3 separate regions of the Homo sapiens genome follow, and all the other regions are linked to region 3. The links are contacts of gene promoters, found by promoter capture Hi-C in blood cells and fetal thymus (Javierre and others, 2016). All regions are on one chromosome and are shown on one strand. Each heading gives the region's core, a stretch centred on a gene start or on the middle of the fragment in contact. The rest is flanking DNA. Distances are from core to core; before and after follow the strand shown.

Region 1 (4,849 bases), core at 1,299-3,798, 700 kb before region 3:
TAAAGATAAATAAAAATTTTAAAAATTAGCCAGGCATGGTGGCACACACCTGTAGGTGTAGCTACTTGGGAGGCTGAGGCTGGAGGATGGCTTGAACACAGGAGTTTGAGGCTTCCGTGAGCTATGATCATGCCACCGTACTCAAGCCTGGGTTGTAGAATAAGACCCCGTCTCAAAAAAAAAAATCACAGTATAAGATATTCTTGAGTAAAGAAGTCCAATTAAAAAATAGTGAGCTTGCTGACAGCAGGTAGAGAAGTAGAGGTTTACAGTATTATCCGTGCATATTCCTACACCTACCTCCCTTGGAGAAACTCATTATTAACAGTAACTGTATTTTTTGCACCATGTCACTGAAAAGTATCTAACATCAGGAAGGACTGCTATCCTGCATCTATTTCTCTGCGATTATACTAACATAATCACAAGTCATGATAACAGTTGCTGCAGGAAATTATAAAATGCGTTGCCTGGCCAAATGTGTTTTCACTTTGGCACACTTATTTTAAAGTGGCTTTCAAAGCAAATAGAATGGACTCATTATAGACAGAAAATTGAGTGGAGGTATGCTAAAGCAACCAGTGCTGGGATCAGTGAACAAACAACCCCATCAAAGAGTGTGGTGGTATAAAAACATGCTGCTGAATATTTATCATTTTATTCAACAAATGCTCTGATGCACGGTACTAGGCACACAGGAAGAACCAGAAAGTTCAGATAGTTCAGATTTATAGGTTTGAACTGAATTTTACAGAAAGCTGTTGTCTTCATGCAGTTCCTTCTTATTTTATTTTATTTTATTTTACTTTATTTTATTTTTTTGAGGCAGAGTCTTCCTCTGTCATTCAGGCTGGATTGCAGTGTCGTGATCCCGGCTCACTGCAACCTCTGCCTCCTGGGTTCAAATGATTCTCTTTCCTCAGCCTCCCAAATAGCTGGGACTACAGGCACGTGCCACCACGACTGGCTAATTTTTTTAGGAGAGCTGGGGGGGGGTCTCACTATGTTGCCCAGGCTGGTCTCGAACTCCTAAACTCAGGCAATCTGCCCACCTTGGCCTCCTAAAGTGCTGGGATTACAGGCATGAGCCACTGTGCCTGGCTTTCATCCAGCTCTTATTTCTTAATTTCAAGTTGGTCAGTGGCACCATGAATAATGAATCAAATTGCTTGATTTGGCTTTTACCCAGGATAGAAAGACTCATGCCTTTCTACTTATAAATAAACAAACAAAATTAGGAGCAATTATTCTAAGCACTCTTGTTTGCTATAAAGTCGGGCAAGAGCTTTCACTGGGTCCAGACAAGTGTGAGCTCGGCTGGTTCTCTTGTTTGATATTGCCCAGATCTGCCCTGGAATGTGCAGGATGGAGATCCTTGTGGGATATTCTTCCTGTGCATCCCCAGAAGGGCGGGTGGGAGCCAGGAATTTTGCTGCCATCTCAGGCTTCCATTTTCAAACCACAGCATTAACATAACCATCCTGCAACTTCAGAGACGGCAGAACATTAAAACAGCAACTAGCCTTTGTCTTCAGCTCCCAAATGAACTGCAACATGGTGAAGATCACACACAGCAGGGACGACGACATGAAGCAATGATAGACACGTCCTCCCCCCACCTTATGCTCAGACAGTGCACTTTTTCTTCTCTTTATTGTAAAATATAACACCACACAAGAGAGTAAAACGTAACATACAACATTACTGGGTGTGGATAACATGCTTACTAGGAGAATTTCAGCTGTTTCCACTCAGAGAGCTAGTTTACTCAATTCTCATTAATGGCCTGCAAATTTGTATTCATGCATTTGTTTTCATATTCCATGTCTAATTCCAAATTGTTCTCTTTAAAAACAAAATGTTTAAACCACTTTATTGTTGTATGACTGACACGTAAAAAGCGGTGCATATTTAACATATACAAGCCAATGAGCTTGGGGATAAGTATACACCCATGAAACCATCACCATCAAGGCCATAAACATATTTGTCACCTCCCAAAGCTTCCTTCCACTCCTATTATAATTATTATTTGTGTGTATGTGTGGTAAGAGTATTTAATATGAGACCTACCCTCTCAGAGAATTTTAAGTATACAATACAGAATTGTTAGCTATATGCACTATGTGTATAGAGATCTCCAGAATTTATTTATCTTGCATAATTAAAACTTCATACCCTTTGACCATCACCTCTAGATTGTTTTTTGATATTGTCGTTTTGTTTTGTTTTGACAAGGTCTTGCTCTGTCACCCAGGCTGGAGTGCAGTGGTGTCATCATGGCTCACTGCAGCCTCAACCTCCTGGACTCAAGCCATCCTCCCACCTCAGCCTCCTGAGTAGCTGGGACTACAGGCATGCACCACCACACCCGGCTAATTTTTGTACTTTTTATAGAGACAGGGTTTGCCATGTGGCCCAGGCTGGTCTTGACCCTCCGGGCTCAAGTGATCCACCAGCCTCGGCCTCCCAAAGTGCTGGGATTACAGGTGTGAGCCACTGTGCCCAGGCTAGATGGTTAGTTATCTCACCCAAGCATCTATCTTCTTGTTTCTCTGTATGGATGTAGGCTTAACTTTTATTTTTAAACACATTCCAGACCTCCTTTCCAGAATCCTCTCTTGTTATTGGTTGACATATTATTGGATCTCACTTCAGACTGACTCCCCAACTCACCCCAATAGGATCTAAACATACAGAGATTACTCCAGAATCATCTGTGGCATCTACACCTCCCTGAGCAGAAGGAGAAGCCATGTGAATTATGGCATGGATCGAGGTCGGGTTGCTAGCCTATAGCAAACCACCTTAACTTCCCTTGAGAAACTTCCTGACGTCTTTAGGAAGATGAAAGATCATTCAAAGCAAATATTTATGCTAGTTCAATATTTTGTAGCCCTCAACAGCTCCTTCCAAAGTGATTCCTCAACTCCAGATGACATGTCAAAACCTCATCCTCTCTCCACGTCTTTCCAAATTAATATGGATTTCAATACATTCTAGACAGATTTCAGATGACAATTTCATAACTATATCATCATTTTGTGCCACCACTGCCTTTTCTTGATTATTTTGCAATGATTCAAAGCTTGACCTAAAATTTAAAAAACATAATTATATTTTATATGGAGTCGAGTTGCCATTTGAGGCTGGCCCCATTGTCAAAACACCTACAGCAATGGACTATGAGCAAGAGGCTGGGGATGCTCGGGTGAAGAAGAGGAAACGACGGGTACAGCCCTGTCCACCCTCTGCTTCTATGAGTGGGGCCTAGGACAGACGTTGCCTTTAAGGAGTGAGGTATTGTGGTGACAAAGAACAGATAGGAGCTTTGGAGCCAGGAAAAGCTGTGTTGGCCAGAAACTTTTCAGCAGGTGCTATCTAAGACGAAGTTACTTATTTTAAACTTTAAAAAATACATATTGTGGGCCAGGTGCAGTGGCTCAGGCCTGTAATCTCAGCACTTTGGGAGGCTGAGGCAGGAAGATCAATTGAGCCCAGGAGTTTGAGACCAGCCTGGGCAACAAAGTGAGACCAAGTCTCTACAAAAAAAAAAAAAAAAAAAAAATCAAAAAATTAACTGGGTGTGGTGGTGCATACCTGTACTCCCAGCTATATGGGAGACTGAGGTAGGAGGATTGCTTGAGCCCAGGAGGTTGAGGCTGCAGTGACCTGTGTTCCTGCCACTGCACTTCAGCCTGGGAGACACAGCGAGACTCTGTCTCAAAATAAAAAGGAGGGGTGCTGGGCGCAGTGGCTCACATCTGTAATCCCAGCACTTTGGGAGGCCGAGGCAGGAGGATCACTTGAGGTCGGGAGTTCAAGACCAGTCTGACCAGTCTGGCCAACATGGTGAAACCCCATCTCTACTAAAAATACAAAAGTTAGCCAGGCGTGGTTGTGCATGACTATAATCCCAGCTACTCAGGAGTCTGAAGTAGGAGAATCGCTTGAACCTGAGAGGTGGAGTTTGCAGTGAGCCGAGATCATGTCACTGCACTCCAGCCTGGATGACAGAGCAAGACTAAAAATAAAAAAAGAATTATGGTAAAATATACATAACATAAAATTTATTATTGAGACAGGGTCTTGGTTTGTTGTCCTGCAGCCTCGACCTCCCCAGGCTCAGGTCATCCTCCCACCTCAGCCTCCCGAGTAGCTGAGACTACAGATGTGTGCAACCACACCTTGCTAATTTTTGTATTTTTTGTAGAGACAGGGTTTGGCCATGTTGCCCAGGCTGGTCTTGAACCTCTAGACTCAAGTGATCCTCCTGCATTGACCTCCCAAAGTGCTGAGATTACAGGTCTAAGCCACCATGCCTGGCCTCATTTTAACCATTTTTATCTTATTAATTCAGTATCATTAAACACGTTCTCATTGTTGTGCAACCATCACCACTATTCATCTATAGGGTTTTTTTCATCTTTCCAAACTGAAACTCTGTACCTATTAAACCATAACTCCCTATTTCTCCTATCCCCAACCCCTGACAACCACCATGCTACTTTTTGGCTCTATAAATCTGACTATTCTAGGCATCTCACTTGAACAGAATCATACAGTATTTGTCCTTTTGTGACTTGCGTAGTTCAGTTAGAATGATGTCTTGGCCAGGTGCAACATAGAGAGACCCCCATCCCTACAAATAATAATTAATTTAAAAAAACAATAATTAATTTAAAAAATTAGCTGAGCATAGTAGTGTGAGCCTGTAGTCCCAGCTATGGGAGGCTGAGGTGGGAGGATCAATTGAGTTCGGGAGGTCAAGGCTGCAGTGAGTCGCACTGGTGTCACTGCACTCCATGCCAGGCGACAGACCAAAAAACAAAAACAAAAACAAAAACCT
Region 2 (4,680 bases), core at 2,084-4,583, 760 kb before region 3:
GCCTCCCTAGCCATGTGGAACTGTGAGTCCATTAAACCTCCTTCCTTTATAAATTCCCCAGTCTTGGGTATGTCTTTATTAGCAGTGTGAAGATGGACTAATACAAAGAGGAACTAGGGGAGCTTGGAGGAACCAGAGACTCAATCAGGGATTCAAGTGAAGTCTCTGTTGCAAACCCTTGAGCAGGTGAGAACCCCTGGACTCTTGCAGGGGATGTGGGAGGAGCTGTACATACAGACAGTGCTGTCCAGCCAATGTGGGTTCAAACCCTGCATCTGTCACTGGCTATGTGACCTTGATCAAGTTCCTTAAGGTCTCCAGGTTTGTTTTCTTATCTGTAAGATGAGAATCCTCTTCTGCAAACCATGTCTGTTTAAAATATGTGCTTATTTTGAAAGTGATGTAGCAACATTTTCTCTAGTTAATGTTCTTTCTCCCTCATAATTTTAAAACATTTATTCATGACTATAATGTTAAGTCTGTGACTTTATTTTTGCTAAATGTCCATCTCAGAGAAGAATATGACTTTATATAGCGAAGTATTTTTTAAAAAATAGCCTTAGTAATGCATATTTGCAATAAAAATATTTGACAATCCTAATACCTTCAGGCTTGTCATTGGAATGAAATGTGATAATTAAGTAAAACCCATTCTTGCTACAAAGATTTAAGTGGTGGCCACTTTTTTTCCCCCCGAGATGGAGTCTTGCTCTGTCACCCAGACTGGAGTGCAGTGGTGTGATCTCAGGTCACTGCAACCTCTGCCTCCCAGGTTCAAGCAATTTTCCCTGCCTCAGCCTCCCAAGTAGTTGGGATTACAGGCACCCGCCACCACACCCGGCTAATTTTTATATTTTTAGTAGAGATACGGTTTCACCATGTTGACCAGGCTGTTCTTGAACTCCTGACCTCGTGATCTGCCTGCCTCGGCCTCCCAAAGTGCTGGGATTACAGGCATGAGCCACTGCACCCGGCCGGTGGCCACTATTTATTAGGAAGCTTGTTATCTTCTACCACTGCACCTGCTGATGATTGCTCTCACAGGCACTTAACCACTGGCTAATAAAATGAAAGTTCCTTAAACCTTACGCACAGGAAGCCACTTAGGCTGCAGTTGCAGCCCTGTGCCAGGGCAGTGCTTGGCCAGTGACCTATAACTCCCTGAGGCTCCTTGTGAGGGAGCAACTCCTGAAGTCACATGGCGAAGATGCTCACAGGACATGATTCTTAGGATGATCCCACCTGTCGAGACCACAGGCTGTAACTCACTGTCACAAGTTAGTGATGAACGCGGAACCTTAATGAAACCGCCAGCGACAGCTGTGCCATACTGCAAGTCACCACTAGGGGGAAGCAGAATACAAGCATCCGGGTAAGAACCAACGAAGCGCTGAGGAACGTGGCCCAGGAAGCCAAATGGGGATGGGAGGGGAGAAGGATCCTAGGCGCACCCTCCCTGTTCACCCCACCCACCGGGCAGACCTGCACACTCCTGGTCTTGCTCTCAAACCATCTGATTCCTCTGTTTCTCTGTTCTCTGGTCCTGGTACAGCACATTATATCTTCCGTATGGCAAAGGCCAGTGGTTCTCTAACATGGCTGTATGTTTAAATCACCTGGGGAGTTCTGTAAACGCTCTACATCCTGGCCTTATCTCAATTAAATCTGAATCTCCAGTGTTTGGAAGCAGGGATCAGTGCTTTTTATATTTATTTATTTACTTGCTTATTTATTTTTGAGACAGAGTCTCACTCTGTTGTCCAGGCTGGAGTGCAGTGGTGCGATCTTGGCTCACTGCAACCTCAGCTCCCTGGGCTCAAGCGATTCTCATGCCTCAGCCTCCCAAGTAGCTGGGACTACAGGCATGCACCACCATGTCCAGCTATTTTTTTTTTCTATTTTAGTTGATATGGTGTTTTGCCATGTTGGCCAGGCTGGTCTTGAACTTCTGACTCAAGTGATCTGCCAGCCTCAGCCTCCCAAAGTGCTGGAATTATAGGCATGAGCCACTGTGCCTGGCCTCCAGAGCTTTTTAAAACACAACAGGTGATTCCAATTTGCAGCCAATTTTGAGAACCACTGTTTTAGGCAAAAGATCTCATTTCTTTTCACATGAAAGCTGGCTTTCATTGTTAGAGGACTCCTCCAAGAAGCCTCCCTAACGAACCACACGTTTTCCTCCTCCTCCTCCATCTGTCCACGGGCCTGTCTGCAGCTGATGCCAGTACTTATCATGGCTTAAGATACATATGGGTTACCTGAGGGTGTTGCAGATTCAGATTCGTTCAGTCTGGGGTGAGGGGTTGAGACGCTGCCTCTCTAAGTCCCAGGTGCTGCTGGTCCACAGACCATCCACAGTAGGGTTGGCAGGACATCAACCTGTGTTTCCGCATGTGCACCTTTGCAGTTGTTCTCTGTTTTGCATTCCTTTTCTGCTTCTGTATTAACCATGTTTCTCCTTTCTGTAAACCTGATGCTTTAACATCTGCCCCGCGTGCATCTGCAGGACACACCTTGCTCTGTGCAACCCAATAATATGTCTCCCTCACTGTCCCCCTCCCCCTGGAAGGAGTCCTCCGGGTGATATGCTTTTCAAATGAAAACCAACCCAGAGCTCGCATCCCAACCAATTCCCTTATCTGGCTCTCACACTCCAGGCCACTATCCCCCTGCCCTAATCACCCAGGACCAGGTATCTGACAAATAGGAACAGCCTGTATGCCCCAGAGCCTGCTGAAATGATTTAAACTAGCCAGTCCTGAGCTAGCTAACCCTGCCTTGCCCACTCTTTCCTGTGGAAACCATAATAAGGGCTCTGGCCACGTTCTCTTCTCCCTCTGCCTCTTGACCAGCCCTCGTGCTGCCCCGGGTGTCCCTGCATGGCGTGGCGTGCCCACTTCTCTTAGATCTGAGAGTAAGAAACTCTCTCTTCAGTGAGAGTCATCATCTGATCTATTGGCCTCACCAAAGCTGAATAAAATTAAAACCTATTAGAGCAACTCCCCTGCTAGGAGGAGAGGCGTGGCTGGTTCCCAACTTGTCTGCATCCCGCCTCTCCTCCCAGTCTTGCTTGGGTCCCTGCTATGCTGCTCATGGTATGAACACAAGACCCTGTACACACACAGAAAAGAGCACAATCAGTGACTGTTGAATGAATAAGTGAACAAATGTAGGGAGAAAAATTCTGAACTTGGAGACCTGGCTCTGCCACTAACAGCTGTGAGAGATTGTGAAGGTGCCCCCGAGACTCAGTGACTTCATCTGTCCTGTTATTTCATAGTGAGGCCACCTGAGCAATATGTGTTAAAGCCCCTTTTCATCCACATGGTAGCATCCTCCTTTCTCTCTCCATCTCCTACTTGTCACTGGTGTTCAGGGTTCCAGCCTTGCCCTTCACACACTGCCTGGGAGGTCCCATCTGTTTCTGAGTCTTTGAATCTTCACCCACAGCTGCTATGGTCTGAATATCTGTGTCCCTCCAAAATTCACACGTTGAAATCCAAATGCCCAAGGTGATGGCGTTGGGAGGTGGGGCCTTCGGGAGGTGATTAGATCTTGAGGGTGGAGCCCCCATTAATGGGATTAGTGCCCTTATACAGAAGGCTCCGGAGAGCTGCCTCACTTCTGCCACCACGTGAGGACACAGAGAGAAGACTCACCTGTGAATCAGAAAGCAGCCCTCACCGGACACCAAATCCATCAGCACCTTGACCTTGGACTTACTTCCCACCCTCCAGAACCGTGGGAAATACATTTCTGTTGTCTATGAGTTACCCGATCTAAGGCATTTTGTTATAGCAGCCTGAACAGACTAAGACACCAGCTCAGGCTCCCCTCTTGAGCTCCACACACGTCTAACCAAATGCCGACAATCCATCTCTATCCTGTCAACCTGCCTGTAAGTCATATTTGACACATTCAAAATCGAGTTTATCATGCCTTTGCGCCTCCCAAACCAGCTCCTCCCCTCATATGTCCTATCACCACAAGTGCCCAGAAGGGGAGTGGCACACGGAAGGAAGCAATCTGGGCGATGGGGGTGGAATTAGATGGCAGAGATTTGTGACAAGCATAGAAGACCACCCAGCACGCTCAGGGGCAGCATCAATCATAAGTCACATCACAGCAGAGCCATGGTGCTCATCACAGCAGAGCCATGGTGCTCAAGTCCCGACAGGGAGAGAGGGTGAGGGAGAGAGAGAGAGAGAGGGAAAGAGGGAGAGAGAGGGACAGAGAGAGACAGAGAGAGAGAGAGAGATGCAGGGACCCTCGACCCATGCAGGTGGGCTTGGGATCATGAGAGCACATGAGGATAGACCCCAGGCTGGCTTCACTGAGACGCCACCCAGAGAAAGGCAGCTGGAGGATGAGGTGGGAATGGAGCCCTTGCCACCTTCCTGGAGCTCCAAGCCAGTCACCCTCACCAGGGGCCCAGAGGCCATTGGGGCAAACAGCACTGAAACTCTTTCAAACCCTGCTGGCCACTTCCCTCCCTTGGGGAGCAGCAGAGAAGCCCACTGGTGGCCAGTGCTCAGTCAGCACAGCTGAGGTGGGCTGGCAAAACTCCTGGCTCTCTCTGTCTCCGAGAATTGGCTGGGGCATCTGATGGTGGTTGCAGAGCCTCATCTCCCCTCTCTTGAACTTAGCGGAGATCAGGCTCAGCAGATCTGCCCAGGTCCC
Region 3 (4,657 bases), core at 1,093-3,592:
AAATCAGTCCAATTATTTTAACAATGCAAGGGCATAACCGATACAAAATAAGCTTGTCAATACGACATCTTCAGAAAAACAAAAACCCACATAGATGCCACTGCTGTTCACAGTTTTGTTATCACGACTGTAATTTTTAAGTCACTATTCTTTTATTAAAATGAACAAAACAAGCCTAACTTTTACATAAATCTGATGGCCTGAAACAGTTTTAATTCACGTTCATAATTACAATCAAAGCTTTTGTGTGTGTGTGTGTGTGTGTGTGTGTGTGTGTGTGAATGAACTGAACATAAATCGTAGGAAGACTTAAAGAGTTAACCGTTTGTAGATGTTCCTACTTGCACATACCACAGGGCTAGGTCAAATCCAAACTGCCAAAGAAAGAAGGCAAGCAAGTTCTCCCTGAAGGGCAGGCCACCATGTGAATAAAACCTCCAGACAGATCATGTTCTAAATGTGCCGCAGCATACCAAAAAGTGAGGAAAATACGGAAACAGAATCATGCTGTTTGACTTCTGCATCGTGTTAACTATTTTTTTTAAAAAACTGCTCTAACTACTAAAGAAGGAAATTATGCTTAGCATAAAAATATTCCAGCACTGAGTGATTGGTACGTTTTACTTCTCTCTTCCAGGGAAACTACTTACACTTATTGATTTTAAACACCTTCACCTCAGCAGCGCATGTAAGTGAGACACTGTAAGTTAACTGTACCTTAAAGAGATCAGTATATAGATGGTTCTGGCGACCAAGATTACAACAAAAGACAAACAACACAGAATTTTTAAAGAGCTGAATAGTCAGTCAAGGATGCATACTCTCAGTCTGGGCTAGCTCTTTTTTGGAAAGGTTGCCAAGAATGTCCTTATTCCCTCCAGAGTTATTTTTCACTCCACTACCTCTGACTAGGTGCATCGCCAGTGCAAGAAAATGCGAGAAGCCTCTGTTTCTGTTGCAAGCAACACCTGGACCTCCAAGGAAAATGAGCACTTTCTTGCTAGGAACAGTCTCAAACATTTTCAAGGGTGAGTCTCCCCTTCTCCAGGTTTAACCCTCTTCCTCCGTAGCTGGAGAGGCTCTCCTACTCGTGCCCGCCGCCTTCTTCCTCCCGGCGAGGATTCCAGGGCCACAACCAGGGCAGCTGCACGCCAGGCCGGCCTGGGTAGCCGGGATGACACCAGGGTTTGCCAACGCCAAACAGGGCGCAGACTCCCCGGCGCGCTCCGGACTCTCCACTCGCCTAAACCTGCTCTCAAGTGAAAAGGAGTGGGAGGAGGAGGATTGGGAGGGGGCGGGGGGCGGAGGGGATCTGTTAATTCGAGGTCCTGGGGGTGTGGGAGCGGGAGGCGGCTCCGCTGATCCCTCCTCCCTCCCCGAGTCCTGGGCTCCACCTCCTCCGCAGGCCCCCAGATATACACACACAGCCGCGGCTGGACATGCACACCCAGTGCCGGCTCCGGGCGCGCACACATGCAGGTAGCCACACTCACCTGAGCCGGTGCAGAGGGCGGCCTGGGCTGGGAAGGGGCCCCCTGCGCCGCGGGAGTGGGGAGAGCGGGAGGTGCCACAGCGCGGACCTGCGAACTGAGGTGATGGCCCGTTTTCCTTAACTCTCCTGCAGCACCTCCGCCCCTGCGCCGGCTCGGCTCTGGCCACAGCAGCGAGGACAGAGGGGCCCCGGGCGCGGCGGACTCGCGGGCGCACGCTCCCAGGAGCGCGCCGAGAGGGGCGCCGCGGCGCAGGAAACTTGGGCGAAGTTAGTTGCAAGTGCCAGGCGGCTGCCGAGAAGAGCGAGGCGGGGACGCGGCCGGTGCCAGGCCTGCGGCGCCGCGTGGAGGCTGCGCTGCCCTCCGCGGCCGGCGAGCTCCGGGAGCCCTAAGTCGGCAGGCGCGCCTGAAGGGGCTCGGAGCGAACAGAGCCGGCATGGCCCAGGGGACGGCCGGACGCGGCTCCTCGGCGAGCCGGGAGAACTTCCTCTGAGGCCGGGCGACCAACGCTTGCTCAAGCCTCATCCACCCTCCTTCCTCGCCCCACCCGTCAGTCCAGCAGCGGGAGAGGAAGACTCGAGAGGCAGGTGCTGCGGGGGACAGCTCCCCCCTCCAAAAAAAAAAAATCACCCAGCCGATTGGGGGTTTCCCATCGGCGCACCCTGCCCGGAGCCAAGAAGACAGGCTGGTGCTGCTGTATTTGTATTTATATCCATTGCTGCGCTCTGCGTTCTCGTGGCACGCCTGGACACTCCTCCGCCTCCCCCTCCTCTTCCTCCTCCAGGGCCACCTCCCCGCCTTCCCCACCCCCATCTGCTTCTGTCAAATGAGAAAGTCACCGAGGAGAACCCAAACACTCCAGCCGCTGAGAGCCCCCTTTGGCACTTGGCAGCACGCGGCGGCGGGCTCCTCGGCTCAACTTCGAGGAGTCTCCGCGACGCAACTTTTGGGGACGCTTTGCATTTAAGAGAGAACGACCGAGGAGGAGGAGCGCTCTGCCCGGCCGCCGCTACCTGCGGGGAGCTCACCAGCAAACGCCACTGCAGACGAAGGACCCAAAGAACGTAAAGGGCAAACTGCCGCCGCGGGGAGGGGGCACCGCCGAGAAGTTAGAGTGTCCCAGAGACAACCTGCTCGAGCGCTCGGCCGGAGACACTAAGGCGGCCCGGGGCGCGGCGTGGCCCTGGGCTGGTCCCCCAGCCCCCTCCTCCGGGGCGGGAGCGACGCCGGGGCGCGACGAGCCCCGGCCGGCCGAGCGGGTCTCCGCGGGCAGCCAACATTGATTTCCTCCGGGCCGAGGGCGAGGGCCCGGGAGGCGGCGGGCTGCAGCCGCGGCAGGGCGAGAGCATGTCCAAGCCGGTGGACCACGTCAAGCGGCCCATGAACGCCTTCATGGTGTGGTCGCGGGCTCAGCGGCGCAAGATGGCCCAGGAGAACCCCAAGATGCACAACTCGGAGATCAGCAAGCGCTTGGGCGCCGAGTGGAAACTGCTCACAGAGTCGGAGAAGCGGCCGTTCATCGACGAGGCCAAGCGTCTACGCGCCATGCACATGAAGGAGCACCCCGACTACAAGTACCGGCCGCGGCGCAAGCCCAAGACGCTGCTCAAGAAGGACAAGTTCGCCTTCCCGGTGCCCTACGGCCTGGGCGGCGTGGCGGACGCCGAGCACCCTGCGCTCAAGGCGGGCGCCGGGCTGCACGCGGGGGCGGGCGGCGGCCTGGTGCCTGAGTCGCTGCTCGCCAATCCCGAGAAGGCGGCCGCGGCCGCCGCCGCTGCCGCCGCACGCGTCTTCTTCCCGCAGTCGGCCGCTGCCGCCGCCGCTGCCGCCGCCGCCGCCGCCGCGGGCAGCCCCTACTCGCTGCTCGACCTGGGCTCCAAAATGGCAGAGATCTCGTCGTCCTCGTCCGGCCTCCCGTACGCGTCGTCGCTGGGCTACCCGACCGCGGGCGCGGGCGCCTTCCACGGCGCGGCGGCGGCGGCTGCAGCGGCGGCCGCCGCCGCCGGGGGGCACACGCACTCGCACCCCAGCCCGGGCAACCCGGGCTACATGATCCCGTGCAACTGCAGCGCGTGGCCCAGCCCCGGGCTGCAGCCGCCGCTCGCCTACATCCTGCTGCCGGGCATGGGCAAGCCCCAGCTGGACCCCTACCCCGCGGCCTACGCTGCCGCGCTATGACCCCGCGGGGCCGCCTCGCGAGGACCGGTGTGCACACGTGTACATATGTATAGGTACGAGCGCTGCGGCCTCCCCGTGCGCCCTCCCGCGACCGGGGGCCCGGTTTGTATGTACATAGAATGTATAGGTGCCAGGTAGAGGCAGAGAGGCCAGGCGGGGCAGGAGTGGCCAAGCGCGCAAGGGCGCGGGCGAGCAGGCCTGTGAATTCGCAGGATCATTTCAGACCCGCACTTCGGCAGCCAACTCGAAAGCAGGCGGTTGTGTGCGGCAGCAGTTGGCGTTTGCTTTGCACTTCGGAACCTGTTGCGTTTTGACCCACGGAGGTGGAGGAGTAACTTTTTGACATGTTGGCCTTTCCAGTTTTGTTGGAAGTTTCATGGTCGGTTTTGTTTTTGTTTCTCATTCTTCTTCCTCGCCCCTCAGCCCCCCAACCCCCAACCCCCTCCCGGTCCGTGTTGCATGCACGCTGTTCAAATGTGAGGTCTGAAATGGCTGGCACACGGGAAAAGCTGCTTGTGTCATTCGTTTCTGGGAGTGGGATGGCTCTGAGCAGCCTCGCCTCCCTGTTTGTACTATTTGAACTTTGCAGATCTCTGTTCTCTCAAGCAGAACTCCCAACCAGATCCATTCTTGACCAGTGACCGGCTCGAATCTGGCCTTTTGTGTGAGATGATCACGGTTTCTTTTGTTTATCACGCCATTTGCAAATCAGAGCAAGAGCTCTTTCTCAAGGGCAAGAAACGCAAACAAGAAATATTTGTGAGATGAAAGTTGTCAATTGGATTTTCTTCCTAAACAAACAACAACAACAAACTACTAGAAGTCTCCCTGAGTCCACTCGCTTGGATTTCTGACACAGTTTACAAAAAAGGAAAAAGGCACTGCTCCTATTTTCCCTTATGGCTGAGTTCACCTTAAGATTGTAAATGTGTATATGTCAGTGAAAACATTGAGGCTTGGAAAATGTGTTATTTTCGTTGCCCTAAGTT

Evidence for each region. Contacts are between HindIII fragments. The CHiCAGO score rates a contact against its expected background, and 5 or more counts as called.
Region 1: a contact is called between a fragment that was not itself captured here and the fragment with the promoter of SOX21 in region 3, in 3 of 17 cell types (erythroblasts, endothelial precursors and total CD8 T cells). The highest score is 6.4, in erythroblasts.
Region 2: a contact is called between a fragment that was not itself captured here and the fragment with the promoter of SOX21 in region 3, in 1 of 17 cell types (erythroblasts). The highest score is 7.2, in erythroblasts.

What each region holds. Positions count from the first base shown.
Region 1 is chr13:95,408,248-95,413,096 of GRCh38, reverse strand. No RefSeq gene overlaps it. Among named protein-coding and RNA genes, the nearest start is that of ABCC4, 110 kb to the right of the region's middle. The HindIII fragment of the contact is 1,085 bases long and covers 2,006-3,090 here.
Region 2 is chr13:95,475,365-95,480,044 of GRCh38, reverse strand. CLDN10-AS1 (CLDN10 antisense RNA 1) reads left to right here. Exons shown (of 4, transcript NR_046533.1): 4 at 83-601. It also overlaps a transcript of CLDN10 not described here. Among named protein-coding and RNA genes, the nearest start is that of CLDN10-AS1, 56 kb to the left of the region's middle. RefSeq lists an enhancer at 1,078-1,437. The HindIII fragment of the contact is 4,663 bases long and covers 1,002-4,680 here.
Region 3 is chr13:94,710,230-94,714,886 of GRCh38, reverse strand. SOX21 (SRY-box transcription factor 21) reads left to right here and starts at 2,342. Exons shown (of 1, transcript NM_007084.4): 1 at 2,342-4,657. The coding sequence starts at 2,838. The coding sequence ends at 3,668. SOX21-AS1 (SOX21 antisense RNA 1) reads right to left here and starts at 2,171. Exons shown (of 2, transcript NR_046514.1): 1 at 1,494-2,171; 2 at 1-1,249. LOC112268114 (a long non-coding RNA gene) reads left to right here and starts at 1,444. Exons shown (of 2, transcript NR_158368.1): 1 at 1,444-1,479; 2 at 1,625-2,167. RefSeq lists an enhancer at 1,117-1,618. The HindIII fragment of the contact is 9,809 bases long and covers 243-4,657 here.